Regions from separate parts of the Homo sapiens genome. Here region 2 is linked to region 1. The links are contacts of gene promoters, found by promoter capture Hi-C in human tissues and cell types (Jung and others, 2019). All regions are on one chromosome and are shown on one strand. Each heading gives the region's core, a stretch centred on a gene start or on the middle of the fragment in contact. The rest is flanking DNA. Distances are from core to core; before and after follow the strand shown.

The links. Contacts are between HindIII fragments. The study calls those that stand out against the background at their distance.
Region 2: a contact is called between a fragment that was not itself captured here and the fragment with the promoter of LRRCC1 in region 1, in 1 of the 25 tissues and cell types used here (thymus).

What each region holds. Positions count from the first base shown.
Region 1 is chr8:85,104,372-85,108,903 of GRCh38, reverse strand. LRRCC1 (leucine rich repeat and coiled-coil centrosomal protein 1) reads right to left here and starts at 1,666. Exons shown (of 19, transcript NM_033402.5): 1 at 1,505-1,666. The coding sequence starts at 1,608. LOC105375933 (a long non-coding RNA gene) reads left to right here and starts at 1,042. Exons shown (of 3, transcript XR_929117.3): 1 at 1,042-1,345. RefSeq lists an enhancer at 1,495-1,554. The HindIII fragment of the contact is 9,097 bases long and covers 1-4,532 here.
Region 2 is chr8:85,512,254-85,517,013 of GRCh38, reverse strand. All of the region lies in intron 3 of LOC105375937 (a long non-coding RNA gene), which reads right to left. Among named protein-coding and RNA genes, the nearest start is that of CA3-AS1, 50 kb to the right of the region's middle. The HindIII fragment of the contact is 6,335 bases long and covers 1-4,760 here.

The DNA of each region.
Region 1 (4,532 bases), core at 417-2,916:
CTTCACTCCAATTACTATTTATAACTGAAGCTTCTCCTGAAGATAGTAGTTCCAGGAACACAAACTACAGCATACACAGTTTGGAGTTGCTAGATGGGAGATACACCCAGGAACACACAATGTCACGGGCATCTGCTGTAGGTTGAGTAGCAGCTATCTTACAGCTGTAGGAAACCTAACTCTGACAGCAGGGAAGCATTTGCAAATTTCAAACTAGCAACCTTTAAATGTGACTATCTGGGGCATTTCCCACTTATCCTGCTGTGTCATTTACTTGAGTTCTTATTTAGTGCCAGACCTTATGCTGTTAACACATGCTCTTAATGACAGTCATTTACTTTCTGACACATTTCAGTTTCTCGACATTAATAATGTGCAGATAATGTGAGATAGAAAAAGCATAGTGAAATTAGACGGAAAATGGGTTTGAATCCGAACTTAATTCTTCATGAAGTGTATAAAGATGAACAAATTGTCAATAGATTCTGAGTCTCATTCATCACTTGTAAATGAGAAAAATTACTACCTTGTAGAATTGCTGTGAGGATTACTGATAATGTATATAACATGCACACAACAGATAGCATTCAGTAAATGGCAGCTAGTATTAAATAGAAATGTAAAATGTCCCTTGAACAGCATCTTCTTGGGATCATCTGGCAAAGTTTAAATCAGAATCCAGAACAAGATGCTTAATTATCAGTAGCAGAGTTCGCGTAGAGGACACGCTACAAAGGAACAGCATGTGCAAAGGCACAGAGAAGTCTGCTATGGAATTGCCTGTAGCTCAGTACAGGTAAATAAAGTGTAAGTGGAGAAATGTTACGGGTCGAGACTAAAGAGCCTGAAATGCAGGTGGAGACCTGCTTTACAGTATTACAGAACCAAGTGCCTCATATGCTTTGCACAAGTCAGGGCTTCAAGAGAGAGGGAAACGATGAACTAAATATAGTAAGTTTAGTACTTTCAAAAAGTATATGAATATATGTATTGCAATGTTCTGTAACGGACAAATGATTTCGAATGCAGACAAGGAGAACTGAGGCAAAACTAACAGGCAGCAGCGACTGCCCGCTCATAGCTGCCAGAGATACTATCCTGCAGGTTTTTTTCAGAGGTAAGAACAGGAAAGACGAGAGAACACGAGAAAACCAGCAATTAAACGGCAAGCAAAGGAATAACCACCAGTAAGTAAGGAAAACCAGCAGAAGGAAAGAGTGGTCAGAAGCTGGTGGAGGACAAGGTCCTGGGGCAGTTTCTAGGCTAAGCAGAGTCGTGTGAAACGCTGGGCAGGAGACACGGGCGGGAAGGCATCCACGGCTCATTCAACCTGGCACTTCGGCAGGTAAGTTTTGGAGGAGCGGGGAGGCCGAAAGCCAGACTGCGTTCACTTATGGTCTTGGTAAAGCAGTGCCGCGCCTCCACTCTGGTGTCGCCGCCAGCCACTCGTGGCCCCGGCTCTGGGGAGTGCGCGGGTCGCTCCTGGCTGCGGAGCGCCCTTTACCTCTGCAAGCCTTTGTCCATGAAGCATACATCCCCGCAGCTGCTGTCGCCGTCTTCGTTTTCCACTTCCGCCTCTGCCGCCACCACCGCCGCCGCCGCCTCCATAGCACTGGCGACGGGGAGCGGGGTCTTAACCGGCACCCAGCGAGGGGTCCGTGAGCTTGGGACAAGCCTCCCGGAAGCGCGGAAGGGCGGCCCGAGGGGGCGGGGCGGGGCGAGGACCCACCCTCCAACCGACAGCCGGGAACTTTCCCGCCTTGACGGTGACGCAAAACTGGAATCCTCGTCCCAACTGTGGGCTTCTTTCGTTTTTACAGCATCTGCGGTGCGACTCTTGAACTTGCTGTAAAGTAAAACTGCTTCCCGGGCGTGTAGGAGCTGGAGAATGAATGGATTTGTCCTGTGTGCTTCTGTATATTTGCCTAGTAGCCGACTGACTTCTGAAGGCGGTTTTCACAGCGGTTTGGCTTTACGTGCCTTTACATAGCCTTACATACGTATAAATTGTTCCTCTGGCCATTGCACCTCCTGTTGATTCATTGAACAATTTGTGGGATGCCTTACTGTATGTCAGTCACTTCCCTGTATGAGGAAGAAAAAGATGAAGCCTATTCTTGTTCCTGGAAACATTCGCAGCCCCATAGAGGAAACAGAATTGCCATACAGTATGACGAATGCTAAGAATAACACAAGGGCATCGAAACCAACTCTAGAGTGATATGGGTAGTGGGTACGTTTTCTAAAAGAAGTGATTGATGACTGAATAGAGTCTTGCTGGGTTAGGGGGAGTTCTGGATGAATGGCATTACAGGTGGGAAAGCAATACCTGTGTGAGGTCAAATAACCCTCCTGGCTAGATTGCTTCCTAAGGCATAGTAATATTTTAAAACGGAGCAAATGGTGCAGTAGTCCATTTGAAGTGGACTATTTCCTTTTGAAATAACTCATATAGACAAAAATAAAAAAGATGTTTTAAAAAATGAGCAAAACCCACATGACATGTAGGACACCATAAAGTGACCAAATATTCAAAATTTTGGAGTCTCAGAAGGCAAAGAGAAAACAATAGAGTTGGAAAAATGGTTCAACAAAATACTATATGAAAACTTCCCAAGTCTAGCAAGAGATTTAGACACCCAGGCACAGGAGGCCAAAGGTTCCCAAACAGATACAATGCAAAAAGGTTTTCTTTTAAAAAAAATTTCATCTCACTTTTTATTTTAGATTCGGGGGTACATGTGCAGGTTTGTTACATAAGTATATTGCACGATGCTGAGGTTGTGGCTTCTAATGATCCTGTAACCCAAATAGTAAATATAGCGCTTGATAGGTAGTTATTCAACTCTTGCCTTCCCCCTTTTGGAGTCCCCAGTGTCTATTGTTCCCATCTTTGTGTTCATGTGTATCCAGTGTTTAGCTGCCACTTGGAAGTGAGAACATATGGTATTTGGTTTTCTGTTTCTGTGTTAATTCACTTAGGATAATGACCTTCAGCTGCATCCATATTGCTGCAAAGGACATGATTTTGTTCTTTTTTATGGCTGCATGTTGGTGTATATGTGCCACATTTTCTTTATCCAGTCTATCATTGATGGGCATCAGGGCTCATTCCATGCCTTTGCTACTGTGCTGCAATAAACATATGAATGCGGGTGTCTTTTTGGTAAAACAATTTATTTTTCTTTGGCTAGATACCTGGTCATGGGATTCCTGGATTGAACGGTAATTCTATTTTTAGTTCTTTGTGAAATCTCCAAACTGCTTTCCACAGTGGCTGCAATTTGCATTCCCACTGATGGTGTGTAAGCATTACTTTTTCTCTGCAACCTCACTAACATCTCATATTTTCTGACTTTTTAATAAAACCCACTCTGACTGCTGTGAGATGATATCTTATTATAGTTTTGATTTACATCTCTCTGATTATTAGTGATGTTGAGCATTTAAAAATATGTTTCTTGGCTGCTTGCATGTCTTCTTTCGCAAAAAAGAAAAGAAAAGAAAAAGTCTCCTTTATGGCCCATTGTAGTCAAACTGATAAAAGTCAAAGACAAAGAATTCTAAAAACAGCAAGAGAAAAACATCTAGTCATTTATAAGGGAACCCTCAACAAACTAACAGTGGATTTCTCACCAAAAACTTTACAAGCCGGCAGAGAATGGTATGATAAATTCAAAGTGCTGAAAGAAAAAACAGCCAGCCAAGTACTCAACAAAGTTATCCTTCATAAACCAAGGAAAAATAAAGTCTTTCCAAGATAAGCAAAAGCAAAAGAATTCATCACCAGTCGACTGGACCTATAAAAATGCTCATGAGAGTCTTACATATGGAAACAAAAGGACAATATTTACCAGCATGAAAACACACAAAAATATAAAGTCCACTGGTAGATCAAACACACAAGAAAGAGAAAGGACTCAAATGTTACCATTACAGAAAACCACCAAACCACAATCATAAACAATGATAGAGAAGGAAAGGAACAAGGAATACACAAAAATAACCAGAAATGGATTAATAAAATGACAGGAATAAGCCCTCACGTATCAATCATGACCTTATGCAAATGGAATAAATTTTCCACCTGGAAGATATAGCTTGAATTAATGGATTAAAAAATGACCCAACAATAGTCTGCTTAGAAGAAACTCATCACACTTGTAAAGACACATATGGACTGAAAGTAAAGGGAAGAAAAAAGATATTTTATGCAAATGGAAACCAAAAGCCAGCAGGAATAGCTATATGAATATTAGATACAATAGACTGTAAGTTAAAAATAGTAAAAAAGAGACAAGAAAGGTCACTATGTAATGATAAAGGGATCGGGCACAGTGGCTCATGCCTGTAATCCTAGCACTTTGGGAGGCCGAGGCGGGTGAATTGCCTGAGCTCAGGAGTTTGAGACCAGCCTCGGTAACACGGTGAAACCCCGTCTCTACTAAAATGCAAAAAATTAGCAGGGGCTGGCTGCGTGTGCCTGTAATCCCAGCTACTCAGGAGGCTGAGACAGGAGAATCACTTGAACC
Region 2 (4,760 bases), core at 368-2,867, 410 kb before region 1:
AACTCTGCCACTTACTAGCTGTGGAAACTTGATCAAATCATAGAAAGAGGGTAAGCCCCAATTTTCTCCTCTTTAAAATGGGGACAGTAAACTCTATTTGCAGAATAAATTATGAAAGTTGATGGAAGGTAGTTTTGAAGTTTGTACCTGTTGTGGATTGAATTGTACACTCCCCACAAGAATCGTATGTTGAAGTCCTAACCTAGATTACTACAAAAGGTGACCTCACTCAGAGATAGGATCTTTACAGAGGTGATGAAGTTACAATGAGAATAATATAGTGGGTCCTAATCCAAAGTGCCTCGTGTCCTTACTCAAAGGGAAGTTTGGAAACAGGTGCACACACACACACACACACACGGAGAATGCCACGTGAACATGAAGGCAGAGATTGGAGTGATGCGTCTAGATGCCAAAGAATACCAAAGATTACCCCAAAACCACTAAAAGGTAGGGAAGAAGCATTGAACAGATTCTTCCTCACTGCCTCAAGAACGAATCAACTCTCCTGACACTGGATCTTGGACTCCTAGGCTCCAGAATTGTGAGACAATAAGTATGTTGTTTAAGCCACTTAGTTTGTCACATTTTGTTATAGAAGCTCTAGGAAAGTAACACAATGTCTGATTATGATTATTTCCTGAGTTAGGAACTTATAATCGCCAGGTGCAGTGGCTCAAGCCTGTAATCCCAGCACTTTGGGAGGCCGAGGCGGGAGGATCACTTGAGGTCATGAGTTCGAGATCAGCCTGGCCAACATGGCGAAAACCTGTCTCTACTAAAAATACAAAAATTATCTGGGTGTGGTGGCAGGCGCCAGAAAGCCCAGCTACTGGGGAGGCTGAGGCAGGAGAATCGCTTGAGCCTGGGAGGCAGAGGTTGCGGTCAGCCGAGATCGTGCCATGGCACTCCAGCCTAGGTGATAGAGTGAGACTCGGTCTCAAAAAAAAAAAGTTAAAGTCACCTTCTGGGAGGAAGGAGTTGGCATAGAGCTAAAAGCTTGAGAAGAGAGACTCATTCTACCTGTAGTTACTGGACATCTCCCATGCGTCAGCTACTATGCTTTGTCACCAGAGATATAACCGTGACTAAGAGTCATGGCTACTACCCTCACAGAGCTGATTGCCCAGCAAAGGTTTGAAAGTGCTATGGTGGAGAACAGGTAAAGGAGGCAACTTGGGTTGAGTAAACTAATTGTTAAACCCTACCAAGTTCAAACTGTTGATAGGCACAACCTTTTATGAGTTAGATTTTACCTGCTTCTTTGATTTCATTTTCAACCTTCAATTGATTCCTTCCCCATCACTCCACATATTGTGTACATATATGCTTGTGCACATGTGCACACAGATGCGTGCACACACACACACACACACACACAGAGGTTATGCTGCCACCACACTCACTTGCATTTCCCAAAACTCCGATATTTTTTGTCTCTCACCTTTGTACATTCCATTCTCTCTGCCTGAAAGTCCCCTCTCCCATTTTATTTACTTGGCAGGTTACCAAGTTTTCCGGTGTTCTAAACTCAAGCATTATCCTCACATTTTAAATTTTCTGACCACAGCCTGAGTTAGAGGTGTCCTTCTGCTTCCATAACACCAGACACTCATTATTATACTGGATTGCAATTGGCTGTTGGTTTGTTTGAAACCAGAGGCTGAGTGTTTTTCATCTCTCTCCTTCATGCTAAGCACAGTACCCGGAACAACATAGATATGCAAAGCACATTTCTTGAGTCAAATGAATAATTAATTAATGCAGAAAAATGTCATATGCAAAGATATTCAGCAACCCATACACACATGGCAAAATACCCCTAGAGCTGATTTTTGGTATCACAGGCACCTGTTCCCTGATCCTGTCTCACTCTGTCCTGCAGTCTTCTGCACCCACCCTCCACATCTTCATCCACCACAAAGGTACCTCTCACCATTAGCCCAGCTTGCCATCAGGTGCTGAATGTGTGTCTCCACCCTTCATCATTCACTAGGAAGCCTCTGGAATGCTAGCATTTATCTTCTGAAAAGTTGCCAAGCACAACAGTAAAGCTGTGTGGTATTTTTCAACTGTGCAACTTTAACATGTCTCAAGGAGGCTCTGAAAAAGTCATAAAGTATTAAGTCCCTCCTTAGTGGCATTTCAATCCTTTTGGAAATAAGTAAATGTGTAAAAATAAAAGGAAAATAAAGTCTGTTGAAAGATTTCAATTGTTTTCTTTGTTCTTAAAAATTTATTTTATTTTACTTTTAATTGACAAATAATTGTAGATATGTATGATTATAGTGTGATTGTTTTGATATATGTATATATTATACCACCACATATCTTCAGTGGTAGATACAAACAAGTACTTCCTAAAACAGTCATGCAAGAATTAAGAACCATAAATCCTAATGTTTTACTCTGCCTCCTCATTGGATTGTGACTTGGCTTTAATCTCTTACATTTAGAAAATTTGGATTTTCTCCTGTTTATAAAATAATTCAGGTATTTCTCCTACAATGCATGTTCACCTCTGTAAAATTGGACACTAAAAATAAGAGAGCTTATGGAAAGAATAGAATTGGGACAAATTCCTCATAAGCTATGGAATTTTGCAACCAAGACACTAATGAGAATAATTAACCCTCCTAATAGAAATACCAGCATTGTTAAATCTCTCTTTGTATTTATGTCCAATCAGTTAATCTTCGCAATTTTAACTCCTGGTTCTGGTGATTTCCCTTTGAAGGAGAGATCCTAGAGGACACTCTCTTCTAGTAGATTATTTAACAAATATTAGAAATCTTATCCAGAGTGTACCTTTTTTTTTTAATAGAAGGGAAATGTCATTGCAGCTTTGTTATCTGCAGTAACAGTTTACCCAAGAAGCTTGGCATAGTAGAAAGGGTAGCAATTCTTGAAGCCACTAACCTAGTCTCCACCTGCAGTTCTGTAGATTTCCAGAGTTAATTCACAGATTGCTAAGGCTCTTTCTTTAGTTGTAAGAAAGCCTACTCTGACCACTTTAAAACATTAACCTGCTGGAAAAAAAATTATACATGAACTAAGACACAACTGCTGTGTTATGTAGACATTATTCTCCTATTATCTCCTATTTGCACAAGGGAAGCAGTATCAATGAAACAGCTTTAAAGTAGAACAGATTGTAGTTCTAAATACTTACTTAGTTTATGAACAAAATAATTAACATGGCTTAATAAGATCATGTCAGAAAACTCTTTAAATTCCATGAGACAAATCTACTATGCAGCAATCAGTATCTCTTTGGAGCCTCACAAATAACAATTGCTACAATCACTTCCACTTTCACATTTAAAGGAAATGTATTTTTAGCTAGGGCAACTCCTACCTTGGCTACCTTCCCAGAAAGTTGTGTGTGAAATATATTGAGGCAAAAACAATGAAGACTTGGTCAATTTTTGCTGTTGAAGTTCTTTTGGGCTTTTCCAACAGATACCTTACTAACCAAATGATTTGGAGGACACAGTTCTAAATTCTGCAGCTCAAAATGCTTCCATTGTAGTATGTCATTTTATTTCCCTCTGGAATAAGGACATTTAAGTACCATTGGAAAGGAACTGTGCTGAATCTGGCATAAATATAAGTCATCTCTTCCTAAGCCTACCAACTCGACTCAAAAACTGTTGAAATATAAGCAAGAATGATACTGGAGTGCATTGGTACAAAATGAAAAGAAGTGTTTCATTACAGCAGGGATACTTTTAATTTTGCGTTTTAGTCTGAAACTAGGTTACGCTTCTGGAAATTGGATGATAACTTTATGTAGTATTCTTCTGTGAGGCTACTGTTTCAGAATAGGTATTTAGCATTTTTACCCTTCTGCGTTGATCCTAGGTGAGTTTCTATAATATTAGATATATGTACTCACAATTCATCTACTCATAGAGTTACAGATGTGCAGAATGTTAGAATAGATTGGATCTTAGAGGTCAGTTAGATCATCTGTAGCTTCCTTTCATAGGCCACAACATTAAGAGTCACACGGAAAAAATGAATGGTGGGATATTATAATATTTCTTACAATATTTTCTGGGTTTTTTGAGGGGTAAGGGTGGGAAGAAACTATTATCAGCTGGCTAAAAGGAGAGTGATAATGTGTGGTTTTCTCGTGTGTATATTAAAGCTTATGAATAAAACTACTAGGTATAAGAACTTACCCAACACGCAGTGAACCTCAAAGGAGATGGTTGCCCATCTGGTTTCAATTTGATTAAGTTTATGTTCTATTTGACGCTTATTATGTGGAAGACACTGAGCTAGGTGGTTGGCATACAAAGATAAGCAAGAGAGGCAAACATAATAACACTGTTTCTTGAAATTAATCTTAACTTACTTTGAGACCCAGCTCTACCACCTATTAATTTATTATTAACTTATTATTAATCTTGGGCAAATCACTTAATCCCTTAGACTTTCCATTTTATTTATCTGCAAAACTAAGATCCAGTTTGTAAAGTTTGGTTTAAGGAATTAAATATCTCATATGCAGTTACTTAGCACAGTGCCAGGTATCCAAGAAGTATTTGTCTCCCCTAGATCTAGAGCCAGAAGCCTTAACTTTAAGGAACTCATAATCCAATAGAGACATGAATAGTGCCTTACTGATGCTGAAGAACGGACATATAATGAATATATGGGAGCACATACACAAGAGACCGTGTTTCTGATGAAGAAGGATTAAATGTTGGAGAATAACAAAGAAGTGTTAGGGAAAGAAACCAAGGGATTTC